Linked DNA regions of Homo sapiens: regions 1 and 3 are each linked to region 2. The links are contacts of gene promoters, found by promoter capture Hi-C in blood cells and fetal thymus (Javierre and others, 2016). All regions are on one chromosome and are shown on one strand. The core of a region is centred on a gene start or on the middle of the fragment in contact, and the rest is flanking DNA. Distances in the headings are between cores, read along the strand shown.

Region 1 (2,743 bases), core at 147-2,646, 3.1 Mb after region 2:
AAACTGAGGGAGAGTTCTGAGCAATGGGAATTGCATATGCAAAGGCTGCAAAGTGGAAGAGAGCATGATTCTTTGGAGTAACTGTTCAGGCTAGACCGGTAAGCAGATGCTGGATTGGAAGGGTCCTTGAACGATGCCTCTAAAAATTTTTAGAGGCCTCTGGGCATCCTTTATTTTTGATGGTTAATTTTATGTGTCACCTTGACTGGGCTTCAGGATGCCTGGATATCTGGTAATACATCATTTCTGGGTGTGTCTGTCAGGGTGTTTCCAGAAATGATGAGCATTTAAGTTGGTGGACTGAATGAAGATGATCACCCTCACCAGCGTGGGTGGGCATCATCCCGTCTGTGAGGACCTGGATAAAACAAAAGTATGAGGGAAGGTGATATTTACTCCTGACCTGACTGCTGAGCTGGAACACTGATCTTCTCTTGCCCATGGTGCTCCTGGTTCTCAAGTCTTCAAACTCAGATGGGAATCTTTACCATTGCTGTCCAGCTCCCAGGCTTTTGAATGGTACCACCATGTATTAGTCCATTTTCACGCTGCTGATAAAGACATACCTGAGACTGGGCAATTTACAAGAGGAAGAGGTTTATGGGACTTACGATTCTGCGTGGCTGGAGAGCCTTCACAATCATGGTGGAAGGTGTAAGGCACATCTCATGTGGCGGCAGACAAGAGAAGAGAACTTGTGCAGGGAAGCTCCCATTTTTAAAACCATCACATCTCATGAGACTTATTCACTGTCATGAGACCAGCATGGGAAAGACACACCCCTATGATTCAATAACCTCCAACCAGGTTCCTCCCACAACACGTGGGAATTGTGAGAGTTACAATTCAAGATGAGATTTGGGTGGGGACACAGCCAAACCATATCACAGCATCTTTCCTGGGTCTCTAACTTCCAGACAGCAGATCACTGGACTTCTCAGCCTCCATAATTGTGTGAGCCAATTCTTATCTACAATCATTTATATACACCTATCTCTATGCGGAGGACAGAGTCTTGCTATGTCACCCAGGCTGGAGTGCAATGGTGTGATCTCATCTCACTGCAAACTCTGCCTCCCAGGTTCAAGCGATTCTCCTACCTCAGACTCCTGAGTAGCTGGGATTATAGGCACGCACCACCACGCCCAGCTAATTTTTTGTATTTTTTAGTAGAGACAGGGTTTCACCATGTTGGCCAGGCTGGTCTTGAACTCCTGACCTCGTGATCCACCCACCTTGGCCTTCCAAAGTGCTGGGATTACAGGTGTGAGCCACCATGCCTGGCCTCAGGTGATCTTTCTTAGCTGCCAATCTATTTGGTCACTCCTTCCAGAAAACATGCCTGTGGCTCTTCATGGCACTTAGAATTTAGTCCAGCCTCCTTTATCTGGGAGCTAAGGTCCTTTATAACCTGACCTCTGTTGACTTTTTCATGCTCACTTCTAGACACTTCCTGCCTGGCATTTTTTGCCCCAGCCTTGGCCATCTCCTCACAGCTCCTGGGAGCCCAAAATATTCTCTTGCCTCTGGGCCTTTCTGTCTCTGGTTCACTCCAGCAGGAATGCCCCGCTTCCTCTCTTAGGGCTGAATTTGAGCACTCATAACAGCCTTGGGAATGCTCCTGCCACAAGACAGACCCCACTGTGCTGAGGCTACCTTCTTGGTATCTGCCTGCCCTGGCCGGCATGCTGACTGAGCACACAGACTGCATCCTGTTTATTACTGAGTCATCGCACCAGGCACCAGCCTTGGAACAGAGTGATCACTGGATACATTCATTTGCCGAATGAATAAAGAATCATGCAAACATATGGAATGATGTGGAAAGCTAGGTCAATGGGTCAAAACAAGTAACATGAGAACTGTGAGGATATTACACAGTCTCATCTTTAAGCAAACATTAAACACCAAAAATTAAAAATCCCTTATCTGACGGTTGACCAGTGCAAATGAAAATGACTCAAAACTACAAGTCAGGAATGGACAACCAATGTACTGAAAGAAAAATCATTTTCTTTCGCTAGTCTCCCAAACATTCATTGATCCCCCAAACCACCTTCTCTGGGCTCAGGAAGTGGCCATTTATTACATTATCACCATCATCATCGCCATCGTCCTCATTCTCCTCCCTCTCGGCATCCGGCTGTCAAACACTTACTGATCACTGCTCTGTGCTGGACTCTGTTCTAAGCTCTTGTATTAACTCATGAATTATCACACCAGCCTTTGAAGCAGATACCATTGTTATCCCCATTTTATAGATGAGGAAATTGAGGCTCCAAGAAGTGTAAGAAAATGAATCTTCAGAGCATTACAGATAGAGAAATACCTTAGAAAAGAACAAAGTATCCCCCAGATTTTGAGTCCTGCCCCGACATCCTCTCTATAGCCTCCTAATTCTCCGACTCAGCGGCGACTCAATTTAGAACTCCAGGCTCATCTTGGGGGACTCCAGTTCATCAAGGCTTGGGTGGATCTTGGCTTGAGAGCCATGCTGGGGACCCTGCTGCACAGTGTCACTGAGATTGTTGCAGAGGAGGTGTGAGAGAGGAGCTGTCAGCACAGCTCCAACCACAGCCCTGGGGACAATGACAGCAGAGTCACAGGATTTTTAGCAGCAGAACGTCTTCTCCACACTCCCTGGAGGAAGGCTCAAGGGCGGAGCATGTCCTCGGTGCCACCCTTCAGGTGAAGAGTCAGCCTGGGGCCAGCATGCTGGTGACAGGCTAATTCTTTCTGTTCA
Region 2 (3,089 bases), core at 286-2,785:
CGTGCTTGCATTTAATCTTTTGCAAATTAGCAATGCTGTATATTTTATGTCCTGTTCCTTTCACTATTTTATTTTCAAGGAAATATAGTATAATTGAATATCCCTTGATTTGTTTACCCTGGTGTTATCCTGGAATGAAACAAACTATCTGTCGGGGCATAAGGAATTAATTTATGGACATCCAATTACTAAGAATCTATGTGCAAGCAATGGTGCTCCTGTATGTTTTCATTTTCGAGACAGAAAAATGCAACAGGCGAGTTAAAGTATACATCCCTGACTGCTGTGATGAGCTTGACATCCAAAATAGGTGTTAAAAACAGGGCAGGCTTCAAATGTTGCCACATTGTAAAAGTCATCACTGTCCCAAGGCTCAAACACCAGCCTGTTCTGACTGATCAGGTCACCACTTAACATCTCTGAAACACTGCTCAGTCAAACCTGAGTTATTAAGCTGATCCATTTAAAGTGTAAAATGTTTAATCCCCCATGATAAGGTTAGTTTCTTGAAGTCTCTCAGATATCAAATTAGTTCCAACAACCAATTTAGAAAATCAGTCGCTTCGGCCGGGCGCGGTGGCTCACGCCTGTAATCCCAGCACTTTGGGAGGCCGAGACGGGCGGATCACGAGGTCAGGAGATCGAGACCATCCTGGCTAACACGGTGAAACCTCGTCTCTACTAAAAATACAAAAATTAGCCGGGCGTGGTGGCGCGCGCCTGTAGACCCAGCTACACGGGAGGCTGAGGCAGGAGAATGGCGTGAACCCGGGAGGCGGAGCCTGCAGTGAGCCGAGATCGCGCCACTGCACTCCAGCCTGGGCGACAGAGCGAAACTCCGTCTAAAAAAAAAAAAAAAAAAAAAAGGAAAATCAGTCGCTTCCTGGGCCGAGCCTAGGCAGGATGCTCTGGTGAGATCCACAGGTACGCAGGTGGGAGAGGGATTCAAGCTGGGGAGGAGGCAGTGGTGGGGAGGAGGCGCGAGACCCGCCCTGATTTGGGGAAAAAGCGAGGTGCACGTGGCTGCCCCACAGCCTAACTCCCTGGTCCCGGCCCTGAACCTCGAATCCCTCCCTGGACTCACTCCCAGTTCGGCGGGTTGACACGAGTGAGCAGCCAGAACGCCCCTGACAACAGCTCCCTCCAGACTGGGTACCGCCCCCACGCCCGGCGCATCCTGGGAGTTGTAGTCCTGTAGCCCTGCAAGCCACTGGCTTAGAGCAGTTAAGAGACTACAACTCCCAGCAAGCCGGGCGAGGGCCCCGCCCCTCCGCGTACCGCCGGCGGCCCCGCCCCGCGAAGCCTAGCACTCTCCCCAAACCTCTCTCGCACGCGGGGACTGAGCACGGCCCGAAAAGCCGAGGACAGCCGGACTCACCCTGTAGTTATAGTAGTGCGTCTGCACAAGATGCCGGTGGCGCGACTTGTGGTTGCCGAAGTTGGATTTCTCGCAAACCAGTAAGTGCCGCGGCGCCTCCCGAAGCCGGCGCAGCGTGGCCATGCTCTCCTGGGTTCCTGGTCCTCCCGGCCTCCGCTGGCGGGGCACGCCCCGCCCCTTCCTCCCGCCCCGCCCCTTCCCTCCGGCCGCATACCCGCTGCTGTGCGCCCCTGGCGGCGGTGGAGTGGGGATGGCGGCGCTGGATTTCTGAGCAGTTCTTAGACTTCTTAGGAGCCCACGCAGCCGCTCTTTGGTGGATGTCTGAAGCTGTAAATTCACTGTCCCAGTGGCTGGGAACCTGGCTCTTGCCTTTTCAACGCCACTTTTCCTCCGTCCCCGCCATCCCTTGGAATTGCCCTAAACCCTCTCTGTGGGCCCCGCCTCGGAGCGCCCCTTGGACCCCAGCCTGGCGCCGGCGCATACCTCGGTCAGGCCCCTCAGAGGGACCGCTTCCTGCCACCGTTATAAAAGGAAAACATCGCATGGAAAGGCCCAGTTCCTTTAGTATATGGTCAAGAAATGTAGCCGCACAGTTAAGTAACCCCCTAAGCTGCTTTGGGGGCCACACCCAGCTGCTTTCTGACTTCTCACACTGTTTGGTTCACAGGACTCTGTTACCCATTGGGGACCTCTTGGCCATTATTAACACAGGCCAACAGGACTAAAAGTTTGTATCAGTCCTTCCCAAAACATTAGGGAAGGTTGTGCGGGAAGGTAAAGCACAATTTTTGCCTTACAATAGGACTCCTTTGAAACTACTATTGAGTTCCCTTTTAAATAGCCCTTCAGAACCGCTTTTAATAATGTGTTGTTTCTGGGGGTTAATAGTGATAATTCTCCTAAGTCATTTTTCCATTTCGTTTTTCTGTCACGGGCTTGGAGCGGTTAAGAGACTGCGGCTCCCAGCATGCGGTACGTTACTGATCAGGGCAAAATCAAGTATGTTACTACATGCTTCTCAAACTAGAGAGGCACAGCCCCAATTCTGCACTGGCAGGATACAAAACAGCAGAATATTGGTGATACATCTTCCTGGAACATCAGTTTTTCTATGAGATGTGGAAGAAATGGAATTAAGTAGTTTACAAGGTAAATAATTAAGAATTTAAAACTAAGCCAGTCACAGTGGGTCATGCCTGTAATCCCAGCACTTTGGGAGGCTGAGGTGGGAGGATCACTTGAGCTTAGGAGTTCAAGACCAGCCTGGGCAATATAGTGAGACCCCATCTCCAAAAATAAAAATAAAACTAAGACAAGGCTGGAAAGTCATCTGCCATTATAAACATCAGTAATCTGGCCGAGCACAGTGGCTCACGCCTGTAGTCCCAGCACTTTGGGAGGCTGAGGTGGGAGGATCACTTGAACTCAGAAGTTCACGACCACCCTGGACAATATAGTAAGACCCCATCTCAAAAAAAAAAATTAAAACTAAGACAAGGCCGGAAAGTCATCTGCCACTAAAAACATCGGTAATCTGGCTGAGTGCTGTGGCTCACGCCTGTAGTCCCAGCAATTTGGGAGGCCGAGGCGAGCAGATCGCCTGAGGTCAGGAGTTCAAGACCACCCTGGCCAACATGGTGAAACGCTTTCTACTAAAAATACAAAAATTAACAGGGTGTGGTGGCGCATGCCTGTAATCCCAGCTACTCAA
Region 3 (3,105 bases), core at 170-2,669, 3.4 Mb after region 2:
AAATGGAATAAAAAGGTAGCATTTCCGGCATACAATGTATATTTAAAAATTAAAATTAGTGATAATGTTGAGTTACAATGACCTATTGAAGTCACAATTATTTCAGTTTATTTTTGAGTTTTCCGACCTGAAGGACAAAAGTCCCACACCAAAAAAAGGTAGAATATGAAAAAAAAGTCATTACGGTGTCATTAACCTGAAAAAACGTGATTTTAACTATACTTTGCCACACTCAACGTTACAAATAAAAGAATCTTACCATGCCATTATGCCTTGATTAACTGCGCTCCGGAATCAATCATGGCCTATGGTGTACGATTATAAAACAGAAAAAACAAAGTTCCATCTCATTTCTTTGTACACACATCATTACACAAAGGTGGAGAAACCCTGTGCTAATGTTTGAAGACTATTCTTTTTTTTTTCCAAGAGAAAAAGTTAACACTAGGACTTTATATATTAAGTAATTAAGTAAAAATAACGCTGTCTAAATTATTTTGAAATGCTGCCTCTCTTCCAAGTTCCAAACTATCTCAATTCACTTAGAAAAACGTTTAATCAAAAAACAATTCTAGGCTTCTGATATCCTAATGTAGAAAAAATGCAGATACTCAACACTTAAGATTTTGTTAGCGCACCAAATCATTCCATCTTTTACTTTCAATATTCCTTAAATAATAAAAAGACGGGAGAGATAATTCAGTTGCAAAGACTGGAGGAAACTTGCAGAACTTCTAGTGGAAGTTTATGCCATAAACTTAATAGCCCAGCCAGAACAATCACATTCTACTGCAAGCCAAATGGAGAAAAGAGTACCTTGGAGTGCCCCTATTTAATAAACACGGAACGAGGAAACAGTTAACTGTAAATACAGTCTAGAGGTATCCAGGTGACTGACAGTTCTCCAGAGACCCCGAGAACAGCGTAAAAGACCCCTTGAGGTCACCTCACCCCTGCGAGTCCACGGATTGGGACCTGAGGGAGTTCTCGCCAGCCCGAGGGCGAAAAACGGGCGAGGAGGAACAGATGCTCCTCCCTGGAAACCGCCCGGCCGGTTTCCGCTCTTTCAAAAAAGGGAATCACCCGTTTCTTCCATCCCGACCTCATCCATTCCTCGAACGCTCCTTCTGGATGAGGAAGATGGGCAGTGTCAAGGTTTTCTGGAGGAGAGGAGATCTGGGTCCCAAACACAGGAAAGGCCCCGAAGGCACGCGTACCCCAAGGCCGGTATGTCACCCGGAAGGGTGACGGCAGCCTGCGTGGCGTCTGAGCTAGACGGAGCATCTCCCCCTCCCCTGGTCCGTCGCCATCACCTCCTCTTCCTCCTCCTCCTCGCCCACTCCTGCACTTTCCACCGCGGCGGTCGCCTCCCCGGAAAGCACTCTCAACTCCGGCGCCCGCAGGCCACTTCCGCCTATGTGTCCCTGCGCGCGTGCGCAGACGCGTGGCCCCGCCTCCCGACAGGCCTGTGTGGCCGGTGGCGGGCGGGCCGTTACCTCCCGCGCATGCTCTATGGGGTAGAGACGCTAGGCCGGCACTGCCTAGGTGGGCCGGGCGGTGCGAGGGTCGCCTTTCAGCCTTTACCTCTACCCACTGAAATGGAGTAGGTCGGTGAGCGCCGATCTGCTGGAGAATCTCATTATCCCATCGGCGCTCTGCCTGCTCCTGGCCTCCAAGCCTCTGAAGCCCCTCGGGTTTCAGCTGCCGGCTACCCTCGAGCCCGTGGTGCCCACGAGAGAGGCGACTTTACGTCAGCGGCCCTGGGCTGAGATTTGAGAACGCGACCAAGTGGAGAATGTTGGAGCCAGATTTTAAAATCCTTGTCTTCCTTCTGCGTGCTACTTGATCTAAATGAGATACGGCAAAGTCACAGAACCTGTTTTTATGTTTTTGCCTGATTCATACGGGCTTCTCCGGTGAAGATGGGCCTGAAGTAACGCTTGGGTTGCTTCTGACGTTATAACTCATCCTGTAGCTGCAGCAACCGTGGTCCTTGCAACCTCATAAAAATGTTGCCAGCATTGTTTCGATAGTGCTGCTTAATTCTTGGAAGGTAAATCTCAAAGCTTGAGGACCAGCCATCAAAACTTTTGTAAAAGGTTTTCCCCGCGTTTAGGGCCTCATCCATCACCACTGAGATGTAATAACGTAAAAACCAAGACGGTTTGGGGATGAGCTGTTTTCAGAGAATAATTAAGGAAAATATTACTGTAACGAAGATGGACAATTTTTGAAAGCATGCCTTGAATACCAGAAAGGGATGAATTGGATTAATATGTATGTTAGAATCCAGTCAGTTATGGACAACTTTTAAAATTTTACAGGCACTCTTCAGAAAGGGTAGCATTTGTGTCTTGTATTGGGATCGAGGGTTTGTAAGAAAGCAAGGCACCTACTTTGGTGGTGAGAAAAAAAGGTCTGGGTAGACATTTTCGTTTAATACTTGCCAACGTTGTTAGGCTGGTGTTAGCAACACTTAGGAATGTTGGAATTAAGGCTTAGAGAACTTAAATTTCCTAAAGAGATAGTAAATGACAAAACCTTTCAGTGATGCCATATCGTCACTGTATAATGTGAATTTAGTACTACTGTTAGCCATTTATATGGTGGTTATTTATCAAGTATTTATTAAATGGGCATATGTATAGCTCATATCGTAAACTATGCGTATGAGCTCCCTGTCCTGAAGAAATTAGGGGTTTCCATGAGAAAGTAAATGGCAGTATAAAACAACTTAAGGTACAAGAGGTGTTACAAGGTACCATCTGCTCATGCCTGGACAATTGCAGTAGCCGTGAGCATAGCTTTCTGCATTCCCTTTATTTCTCTACATAGTTGCATTCAGCAGCTGGAGTGATCCCATTAGAACCTGAATATGCCACTCCTCTGTGCAGAACCTTTTAGCGGTTTACCATTTTACTCAGATTAAAGTTCAAAATTCTTACCCTGACTTTTAAGACTGAACTTATTCTTGATGGATCACATCCAAGCTACACTTCAGAGCTTTTCTAATTGCCCCCAAGCACAGCAAGCATCAGTGCTTTGTAGCTGTTGTTCCTTCTGCATGGAACACTGCCCTCTCAGATGTCCACAGAGCTTGCTTCC

What was found. The method cuts DNA at HindIII sites, captures the fragments that hold promoters and counts their contacts. A CHiCAGO score of 5 or more calls a contact.
Region 1: a fragment that was not itself captured here is called in contact with the fragment with the promoter of RPP40 in region 2 in 1 of 17 cell types (naive CD4 T cells); the score reaches 5.7 in naive CD4 T cells.
Region 3: the fragment with the promoter of SLC35B3 here is called in contact with the fragment with the promoter of RPP40 in region 2 in 3 of 17 cell types (activated CD4 T cells, non-activated CD4 T cells and total CD8 T cells); the score reaches 6.8 in activated CD4 T cells.

The regions. Positions count from the first base shown.
Region 1 is chr6:8,106,755-8,109,497 of GRCh38, forward strand. No RefSeq gene overlaps it. Among named protein-coding and RNA genes, the nearest start is that of EEF1E1-BLOC1S5, 5.5 kb to the left of the region's middle. RefSeq lists a silencer at 2,379-2,571. The HindIII fragment of the contact is 4,957 bases long and covers 1-2,743 here.
Region 2 is chr6:5,002,502-5,005,590 of GRCh38, forward strand. RPP40 (ribonuclease P/MRP subunit p40) reads right to left here and starts at 1,536. Exons shown (of 8, transcript NM_006638.4): 1 at 1,379-1,536. The coding sequence starts at 1,501. It overlaps LYRM4-AS1 (LYRM4 antisense RNA 1), which reads left to right and starts at 1,315. Exons shown (of 4, transcript NR_126015.1): 1 at 1,315-1,458. RefSeq lists silencers at 1,137-1,386, 1,517-1,646. The HindIII fragment of the contact is 5,117 bases long and covers 1-3,089 here.
Region 3 is chr6:8,434,126-8,437,230 of GRCh38, forward strand. SLC35B3 (solute carrier family 35 member B3) reads right to left here and starts at 1,420. Exons shown (of 10, transcript NM_001370479.2): 1 at 1,218-1,420. It overlaps LOC100506207 (a long non-coding RNA gene), which reads left to right and starts at 1,498. Exons shown (of 5, transcript NR_038980.1): 1 at 1,498-2,053. RefSeq lists enhancers at 1,048-1,187, 1,160-1,701, 1,198-1,257, 1,458-1,627, 1,568-1,647 and 1 more. The HindIII fragment of the contact is 10,856 bases long and covers 1-2,064 here.